2 separate regions of the Homo sapiens genome follow, and region 2 is linked to region 1. Evidence: promoter capture Hi-C in human tissues and cell types (Jung and others, 2019). All regions are on one chromosome and are shown on one strand. The core of a region is centred on a gene start or on the middle of the fragment in contact, and the rest is flanking DNA. Distances in the headings are between cores, read along the strand shown. Region 1 holds the start of ZNF396 (zinc finger protein 396). Region 2 has its middle 2.3 kb from the start of MIR3929.

Region 1 (4,581 bases), core at 1,496-3,995:
GTTCAAGTGATTCTCATGCTTCAGCGTCCTAAGTAGCTGGGACTACAGGTACCCGCCACCACGCCTGGCTAATTTTTGTATTTTCAGTAGAGACAGGGTTTCACCACGTTGGCCAGGCTAGTCTCGAACTCCTGACCTCAGGTGATCCACCCGCCTTGGCCTCCTGAGGTGCTGGGATTACAGGCTTGAGCCACCACGCCAGGCCCAGAAACCATGCTTTTGAAGAATACTTCTTTAAGAGAACCAAACAGCTAAGACTCATTAATTCATATGCATAAGTGATTCACAATTCATTCTGAAAACCATGCCCACAAGGCTACTGAATATTACAATAAGAGATCAGCCAGGATTGCATAGAAGCTCCCAGATAATGGAAATAAGGGAAGCCTGAGAAATGCTCTAACTCTGGAGCCAGTTCAAAGAGCCAATCGGTATTTAGTGTGCTGCAAAGAGCTCAAAGAAATAGTCTCATGAGGGAAGCACTTTTGTGTGACTTTTTTCAGCTTTTACTGTTAAAACATTACTTCGACATTAAAGGAACCATTAAAAAAAAAATAAACCAATCAGCTGGGCACTGTGCTTATGCCTGAAATCCCAGCACTTTGGGAAGCCGAGGTGGGAGATGGGAGGATCACCTGAGCCCAGGAGTTTGGGACCAGCCTGTGCAACATAATGGGACCCCATCTCTACCCCACCAAAAAAAAAAAAAAAAGAAAAAACAACAAAAAAGGCAATCACGTTCCTTCATCTGAATGTATTTCTATTTTTTTCCATATCCATATTACTTACTTAACTATTTTAAAATACTTAGGTTGTTTCTAATTTCACTATTATAATTAATGCTGGGAGGCACATCTTTATGAATATACTGTTTTTCTCCTTTCAAAGTATTTCTTTCAAGCATGTCCCAAGGCCTCTGCTTGTTGAGGATCAAAGGAGAAGAGCAAATTCTGTCTTGCTATGTATTATCAAAATATTGCACAAAGACTGTATCAATTCACAATACCATCACAATCATAGTGACTTGTGAGGGCAACGATTTCTTCAAGTATTATTAGCTCGTTAGCAACAAAGTTGGGGGGGGACGGCACTTTCCTTTGTATCATTTTACTGTTAAGTATCACCAGTAACTAATCTCATTTTGTTGTTGTTGTTGTTTTGTTTTGTTTGAGACAGAGTCTGGCCCTGTTGCCCAGGCTGGAGTACAATGGCGGGATCTTGGCTCACTGCAACCTCTGCCTTCTGGGTTCAAGCGATTCTCCTGCCTCAGCCTCCCAAGTAGCTGGGATTGCAGACGTGTACCACCACGCCCGGCTAATTTTTATAATTTTAGTAGAGACGGGGTTTCACCATGTTGGCCAGGCTGGTCTCGAACTCCTGACCTCAGGTGATCCCTCTGCCTCGGCCTCCCAAAATGCTGGGAGTACAGGCGTGAGGCTCTGCACCCGGTCTAATCATATTTTTTAAATTGGGCAGGAGGTATATGATAGTGTTTGTACAACTTCAGCAAATGATGACTACTTTAAAAATCTTACGTGCGCCTCCGTCTTCCATCGTTATGTATCCTGCCATTTGACTTATTTTCTCACTTCACCAAGTATTGTTCTAGGCCCTGTATAAAGCCTGTGAGTTCATAAAGTTGTTACCAAATAAATGATACAACTTTACACAATGATGTGCTATGAAACAAACAATAGCAGACACACATATTAACAGAATTTACTATGTGCCAAGCACTGTTTTGAACACCTTAGTAAAAATAAACAAAGGTTAAATCCTCATAAAAGCCCTAGATTATTTTTACCCCCATGTTGTAGACGGGGAAGCAGTCACAGCAAAGCCAGGTACTCTGGCCAAGGGCAAAGCTGGGGTCTGAACCCAGGCCGTCCACATTTATCCATGGTGCTGTGTGGTTAGAGGCCATAGGCAGCAGGGGCCCTTGTGGTGACCCCTGCGCGTTGTCTCAGCGCAGAGGAGGAAGTGGCGGCAGGCAGCCGCGCTCCCAGATGAAGCGGGGCCAGAAGAGTCTGGGGAACAAGACCTGAGAGGTGGGAAGGGTTGAGGCCACCGGTTTGGAGCCGTCAGGTACCCTAAGGGATATATGAGGGACCCCGGGGCTAAAGCAGCCTCTGGAAGAGAGTGGCCGCCCTGTCACTTCAGCACCAGGCGCAGAATCTGTGCTAAACCTGAGGTGAGGGTAAGGAACCCCCGACACCGCACGACAACCAGAAAGAACGTCCCTGGAGGGGAGGCTTCGATCAAAGCCTGGGACGCAGGGGTCTTTCTGCAGGGGACGCCGCTCTCGGCTCTACCCTGCTGTGGTGGGCCGGCTCTGGGAGGGCTGGCTTCCGACCATCTCCCGACCTCCCGCGCCCACCGCGCCGCGCCGCGCGCCTCCCAGGCTGGGAACCGCCGGGGCGAAGCGGCAGGTGGCGCGGGTTCACCTGGCAGGGCAGGCGCCCGGGGTCCGCCGGGGAAGGACGAGGGGAAGGGGTGCGCGGACTCAGGGGCAGGCAGCGGAGGGGAGGGGCCTGGGGATCTGGGACGGTGTAAGGGTGCTGCACTTGCGCGCGAAGGGAGGGGTGGCGACGAGTCCGCGGCCGCCTCTCCGCGTCCCCCTTCCACCACCCGGGGACCACCGCCTCTGACCGCAGCCTGGGGGCCCTAAAGAGGCCTCGGGTCTCACCTCCCGACGCCGTCGGGGAGAAACCGGGGAACTGCCAGCTGCGCAACAACTTCCGGTTCTGGTGGCGGGTCGGGGCGGGGCCCGGAACGCGGGGACGTTGCCATGGAGAAGAGCCGCTGTGGCCGCGCACTTGGGACAGGGAAAGAGAACCGGGAGGCTCGACCGGTGGGAATCCAGCTGCTCTGCTCAGTGTTCCGTTCAATAAACTAGCATTGTTGCTTCGCAAAGTGCTTTTGCTTACATTATTCATTTACTCCGGTAACTCAGTAAGGTTATTCCCATTTTACAGAAAATAAACTCAAATGTCCTGTGACTTGCCAAGGATTACAGAGAGGGGCGAATGCTGTGCTGTCTACCGCTGAGTACAATCCCTAATACCATTCCCACTCCCGAAGTGGTTACACCCCAAGTACTGACGTTTTAAGGGACAAGTTTGACATCCGCAACCCCATGCTTTCACAGGAGAACACAATGGCCCTTGAAAAAGTGAGAACTGACCCACATAAAATTTGTTACAATACATACACATATCTCTCCTCAGATAATCTTAATCTCAATTGAAAAATAAGTTTGAGGCCGGGCGCGGTGGCTCATGCCTGTAATCCCAGCACTTTGGGAGGTCGAGATGGGCAGATCACATGAGCCAAGGAGTTCGAGACCAGCCTGGCCAACATGGCTAAACCGCATCTCTACAAAACATACAGAAATTAGCCGAGTGTAGAGACGCATGCCTGTAGTCCCCGCTTCTTGGGAGGCTGAGGGGTGAGGATCACCTCAATCTGGGGAGGTGGAGACTGCAGTTAGCCATGATTGCGCCACTGCCCTCCAGCCTGGGCTGCAAAGTGAGAGCGTCTCAAAAAATAAATAAATAAATAAATTTAAGCCTAAATGCACCACAGCCCCACCTCGTGACTTCCTTCTCTAGCCCCTTTCCCTAGGGACTCCTGGAAAATGTACTTGTACTCGTAACTGAGGAATTAGGGAGAGGACGGAGATGCTTGAAAAGCACTTGCTAATTAATAAAGAACAATAACAAAAAATCCCTTTTGGTATGACGCCGCCCCAAAAGTATGTTAGTACTGGAATCTGAAGTGAAGAAAGAAGAGGCTGGTTTACTCAGTTTATGACGCTAGGGGACTAGGGAGAGGTTTGGATCCCAATTAGAGTACAGTAAAACTAAATCTGAAGAAATTCTTGCTTCAAACAAGGGGCTTTCACAGGATAAGACTTTTTGCTGATGCAGCTGCCAACACAAATAGCAAACAGCCCAAAAGTGCAGGTGGGAATGTGTTTCTGGCGCTGGTGGGTAGGGTAGGTTAAATGACTCACGTCAGGGGAGAATTTGAAACGAGGGCAAGGCTTGGCAGTGGTGTGAAGTCACAGGAGACAATTTAAGGAGAATATGAACGACAGTCAGAAGCTTCAAGGAGAAGGAGGAACTGTGGGATGTGGCAAGAGGTCAGGGATGATGAATTCATGGGTATGGTCCACCAAACAGCCAGATATCAGAGGCCAAAGTTAAAAACAGCAACAACAAAAAAGGGAGCAGACATAAAAGATTGATTAGAAAAGTTTCACAGTCAGGTAGTTAGAGCAAGAACAGGTTTTTGTTTGCTGTTTTAATTTTTTAAAAATTTTGGGGGTAAAGTGAAAAGAAATTAGCAGGAATAAGGTCCCAGTAGGGTGAGCACCTACTATATACCAGTTGTATCGTAAACACCGGGAATTCAATGGTAAAATATAGATTCTTGCCCTTTAGGGGCTAATAGACTAAGTAAAGAGAAAGATGAATAAATTGACTTTTCTAAACAATGTGGCAACATTCTGATGGAGACAACTGCAGGATACTATAAAAGCACAAAGAAAGGGAGGTCCTGGGTAGAGACTGGGATTGG
Region 2 (4,581 bases), core at 836-3,335, 560 kb after region 1:
CTGGCCAACTCATACGTTTTAAATTGTGTGCTGTTCTGAGTAGCATGATGAAATCTCAGGCCATCTGTCCCGTCCCTCCTAGGATGTGAATCATCCCTTTGTCTCGTGGATCTACACTGTAGATGCTACCTGCCTATGGGTCATTTAGTAGCCATCTGGGTTATCAGATCAACTGCCGTGACATCACAGTGCTGATGTTCAAGTAACCCTTATTTTAGTTCGTAATGGCCCCAGTGTGCAAGAATAGTGGTGCTGGCATATCATTATAATTGTCTGTTTTATTATAATTTGCTGTAATCTCTTCCTGTGCCTAATTTATAAATTAAACTTTATAATAATATAATATTATATATAATATAATATAATTTATAAATTAAACTTTATAATAATACATATAGGAAAACAACACAGTATATATACAGTTCTTTAGTATCCATGGTTTCAGGTATCCACTGGGGGGTCTTGGAATATGTCCCCAGCAGATAAGCAGGGTATACTATATAGAACTGTCAGGAGAAAAATATTTGAAACCTGAGAATAGGCAAAGATTTCATAGGTCACAATTATAATGATATGCCAGCATCACTTGTCCATGACAAGGTGCTTTACAGAGGCCATTGTCTCCTTTTAGCTAGGCAGTGAAAAGCACATTACAAGTAAAGAAAACAGCAGTTTTCTTAGACTGTTTACTTTGCAATAAAGGAATACCTGAAACTGGGTAATTTATAAAGAACAGGGGTTTATTTGGCTCATGCTTCTGCAGCCTATACAGGAAGCATAGGGCCTCAGAAGCTTCCAATCATGGCAGCAGGTGAAGGGGAGCCAGTATATCACGTAGTGAGAGAGGGAGCAAGAGAGAGAAGGAAGTCTCAGGCTCTTTTAAATAACCAGATCTTGGGCGAATTGGTAGAGCAAGAACTCCCTCATTACTGCAAGGATGGCACCAGGCCACTCAAGAGGGATCCACCCCTGTGATGCAAACACCTCCCACTAGGCCCACCTCCAACATTGGGGTTGCCATTCCAACGTGAGATTTGTAGGGCACAAGTATCCAAACTATATCAATGTCCTCTGAGTGTGTGTGTGTGCACGCGTGAACTCATGGGGTTTCTTATTCTCATAAATTCTGGCAGTCCTCTATTAATTACTTACTTCAGACACAAATTATAACCAGATATGGGACAATATAGTTACTAGGGAAAAAAGTTTACTTTCTAAAAAGAATTGGCATATTCTTTGGTTAATTAAGAGGAGAAAGTATCCAGAACCCTTTTCCAGTTCTCTTTGCAGAAGCGTATAATTGCTTTAAGGGTCTTTCTGGCGAAAAGTGATTAGAGGATACATTCCGCCAAGCACCAGGCTGCTCCCTCGGCATGTCCCCCACTTCTGCTGATGCACTAACGTGTCTCAAATCAGTTGCCAATTGGCAGGTGAATCCTATAAAACTGCAAACCTCTGGTGGAGAAACATTATATAAAAGGAATGTAATTGCAGGAAGCTTTCCACCTGCCCCATTCTAGAGGCATCGCAAAGCAGATTTTGTCTAAAGGCTTACCAGAAAGTGAGAGGGCTCCAAAAGGACTTAGAAGGCCCATCAAGCACAACCTGGCATTGTTCATCCCTAATAATTATATGTGCAGAGTTTTATAGTAGCTCTTCTCCTAGTGGTTCTTTTCATCAGCCTTGTCAATGGAGTGAGAATAAACCTCCCTTCCTGTCTGCCACCCCACCCCACCCCCACTGTGAAGCACCTGGGTTTTGTGTGGGGTTGACTCCCCCGTGCATCCCAGCATCAGCCCGGGCCTGACCAGTCTAGCCCAATCAGGGCATCCCCCACTCCCCTTGCTGTGGTATTTTGTTCAGGGATGAACTCCTGCAGAGAGAGTATGTCTTCATCAGAGACAACTGGCAGGCCTGCCCTGCCGAGGAAAGCCAGCCTGAAGACAAAGCCCACACAGGGCAAGAGAAACTAAGAGAAGTTAAGACAGAACCAGAACCCTGATCAAACCACACCTGGAGCCCACCAAGCATTTGTGTCGCAAAAACTTAGTGAATCCCATCTAATGTTCAAACCTGTGCATTGGATTAGGTTTTTAGTACCCTGCACCCAAAACCTCCTCACTAAAATACTACATATCCTCTGAAATATTAAACAAAAGAGAATGGAAACTACCAACTACTCATGTAATGAGTTTTAGAAATCCTGGCCTTGAAAGATGTTGTGTTCAGGAACGACTATATAACCAACATAGGTTGTATATTTTCATGGGGCAATGACACCTCTAATAATTCACGCATCATTTTCTACTCACGCACTGCTTACTTCTATAAGGATTTCACATGGCTTACAACAAAATACCTATATATTAGGATAATAAAATAAGAGTTAATTATCCAGGGGAAAAGATGGATATATCAGAAAACATCAGTGAAGTATAACTCTTAGGTTGGAACATACAATTTAGCTCCGAGCATTCTGTCAGCCAAGGTTAAAATTATTACAGGTTGAGTATCCCTACTCTGGAAAGCTGAAATCTGAAATGCTCTAAAATCCAAAACTTTTTAAGTACCAACATGATGCTCAAAAGAGACGCTCATTGGAGCATTTCCAATTTTAGATTTTTTGACTTAGGGATGCTGAACAACTAAATGTAATGCAAATATTCCAAAATCTGAAAAATATTGAAATCTGCAACACTTCTGGTTTCAAGCATTTCAGATAAGGGATACTCAACTCAACCTGTATCTTACTATCTGAAAAAGAAAAATATCTATGTTTGCTGGGAGGTATGACGCTTTTTCCTAGCAGTAGTAAGTAAGCTCTAGAGCAGCTGTAGTCAGTTTGGGAAGTTTAGGCCCTTGAATGCTGACATTAGCTGAACCACTTTAGCTTATCTGTATTTAGAGCATCACCAAAAGTGTTGACATTAATCTATGTACTGGCAGTGTTAGAATGTTATCAGATTCTGGCAGAGAAATGTTTACATCAGCACTTGCAAGAAAGTAGGGCGGGGTGCAGTGAGTTTTTCAAGGAAGTACAATGTGATCCCAGCCCCACAGGGTTGTTGTCAGCAGCAGCAGGAGGGCACACTGAGGGCTTGAACTCTGCAGCCCCTCTGTACCCTGAGGACAAACAGGGTAGGGAGGTGGAGAAGCAGAGAGATGAAAAAGGAGGAGGGAAACCATGTGGGGGAGTCCTCAGAAGGGCAGCTAAGCTGCAAAACCCTAAAGTATGCAACTGGAAAGGGAAGGGGTACTTCATTGAGCATGTGCTGGCACAGAAGAGAAATACAGAAACACCGAGAAGTCTTGCCCACCTTAAAAGATAAAAGGGAGATTTGCACACAGTTTAAACAAGGAGAGCATTGTTGGATAACCATAGCTAATCTTTACTGATCACAACACTCCATAAGGTAAGCACTATTATTACCCCTGTTACACTGACAAGAAAAGTAATGTTTATGTGCCCAAAATCTCATGGCTAATCAGTGATGGAGCTAGGGACCTGATCCCAGGTAGTCCAGCTCCAAAGCCAGCTGCTCACTTCTGGTGACTATGACCATCCCATCTACCCTGCTCTGACTGGAGCTGCAACTGTGGGAGACAGTTTCATGTGAGCTGTGACAGCATCCCCAACCCCAGCTTGTGCTGTCTCACATAATCCCACTCTATGCAGCCCAGAAGTGCAAGATAGTGAACTGCCCCAGGTAGCCTTCAACCAATTGGCAATGGAAGCAAATGGAGAAATGCTCTAGGCTCCTGGCCTACAGCAGATGGTTCTGAGAGGCCTTCTGTGTGCTAACTCCAGGCCTGACAGAATCGAGCTCCACCAACTTTAGAGGTAACCTCTGCTTCCTCTCTACCCCATGCTCCCTTCTTTGGGAATCACATCCCAAATAAACTAGCTGAGACATCCTTGTCTCAGGCTCTGCAAGAAAGGAAACTTAAAGCAAGAGAAGGCATCTGCATTATAGGACATCAGAGATCAGAAAGGATCTCATCAAATTCTCAGCAGGTTCATATTTGATTGTTAAAGTCATTGACCACTGTCCTGCTCTGGAGAAAGAAGTTGCAGAGGAGGAAGAGGTTTTCAGGGAAATATTGGCTCAGGGCTCAGCCAAAGGCAAAAGATTTCAATGAACAAATATGTCTGACTGAGCTACATATTTTCTAAACAATGACTTGTCTATTTCAAAGTGAGTCATGACAAGAATCACTGGACCATGGAGTTCTTGGATAATGTGTGGTGTTCTCAGATAAATGTATTTCTTTCTCTCGGGTATTTATATAAAGCTGATAAAATGGGTTTGTTTACTGTTGCTTGCCAGTTTCCCTGTAAGTGGTGCACATGCCCTTGATTTTAAGCTGGAAAAAAGGGACACATTGATTCTTAGGGAATATTCTAATGCTATAGGTATCCACTAAAAAATTAAAAAACAAAAACAGAACCTTTGGTGCCTAGGGAAAAATCTAATCTTTTCCAGGCTCTCCAAGGTGTCACATTTTTACCAGCTCTTTGCAAAGTATAAGTCAATGCATGGCTGAGAAAGAGACTTTCATGATTGCATTATATTTATGCAA

The links. Contacts are between HindIII fragments. The study calls those that stand out against the background at their distance.
Region 2: a fragment that was not itself captured here is called in contact with the fragment with the promoter of ZNF396 in region 1 in 1 of the 25 tissues and cell types used here (dorsolateral prefrontal cortex).

Annotation. Positions count from the first base shown.
Region 1 is chr18:35,374,592-35,379,172 of GRCh38, forward strand. It overlaps ZNF396 (zinc finger protein 396), which reads right to left and starts at 2,746. Exons shown (of 4, transcript NM_001322286.2): 1 at 2,687-2,746. RefSeq lists silencers at 2,262-2,451, 2,462-2,531. The HindIII fragment of the contact is 8,301 bases long and covers 1-4,581 here.
Region 2 is chr18:35,934,147-35,938,727 of GRCh38, forward strand. No RefSeq gene overlaps it. Among named protein-coding and RNA genes, the nearest start is that of MIR3929, 2.3 kb to the left of the region's middle. The HindIII fragment of the contact is 7,355 bases long and covers 1-4,581 here.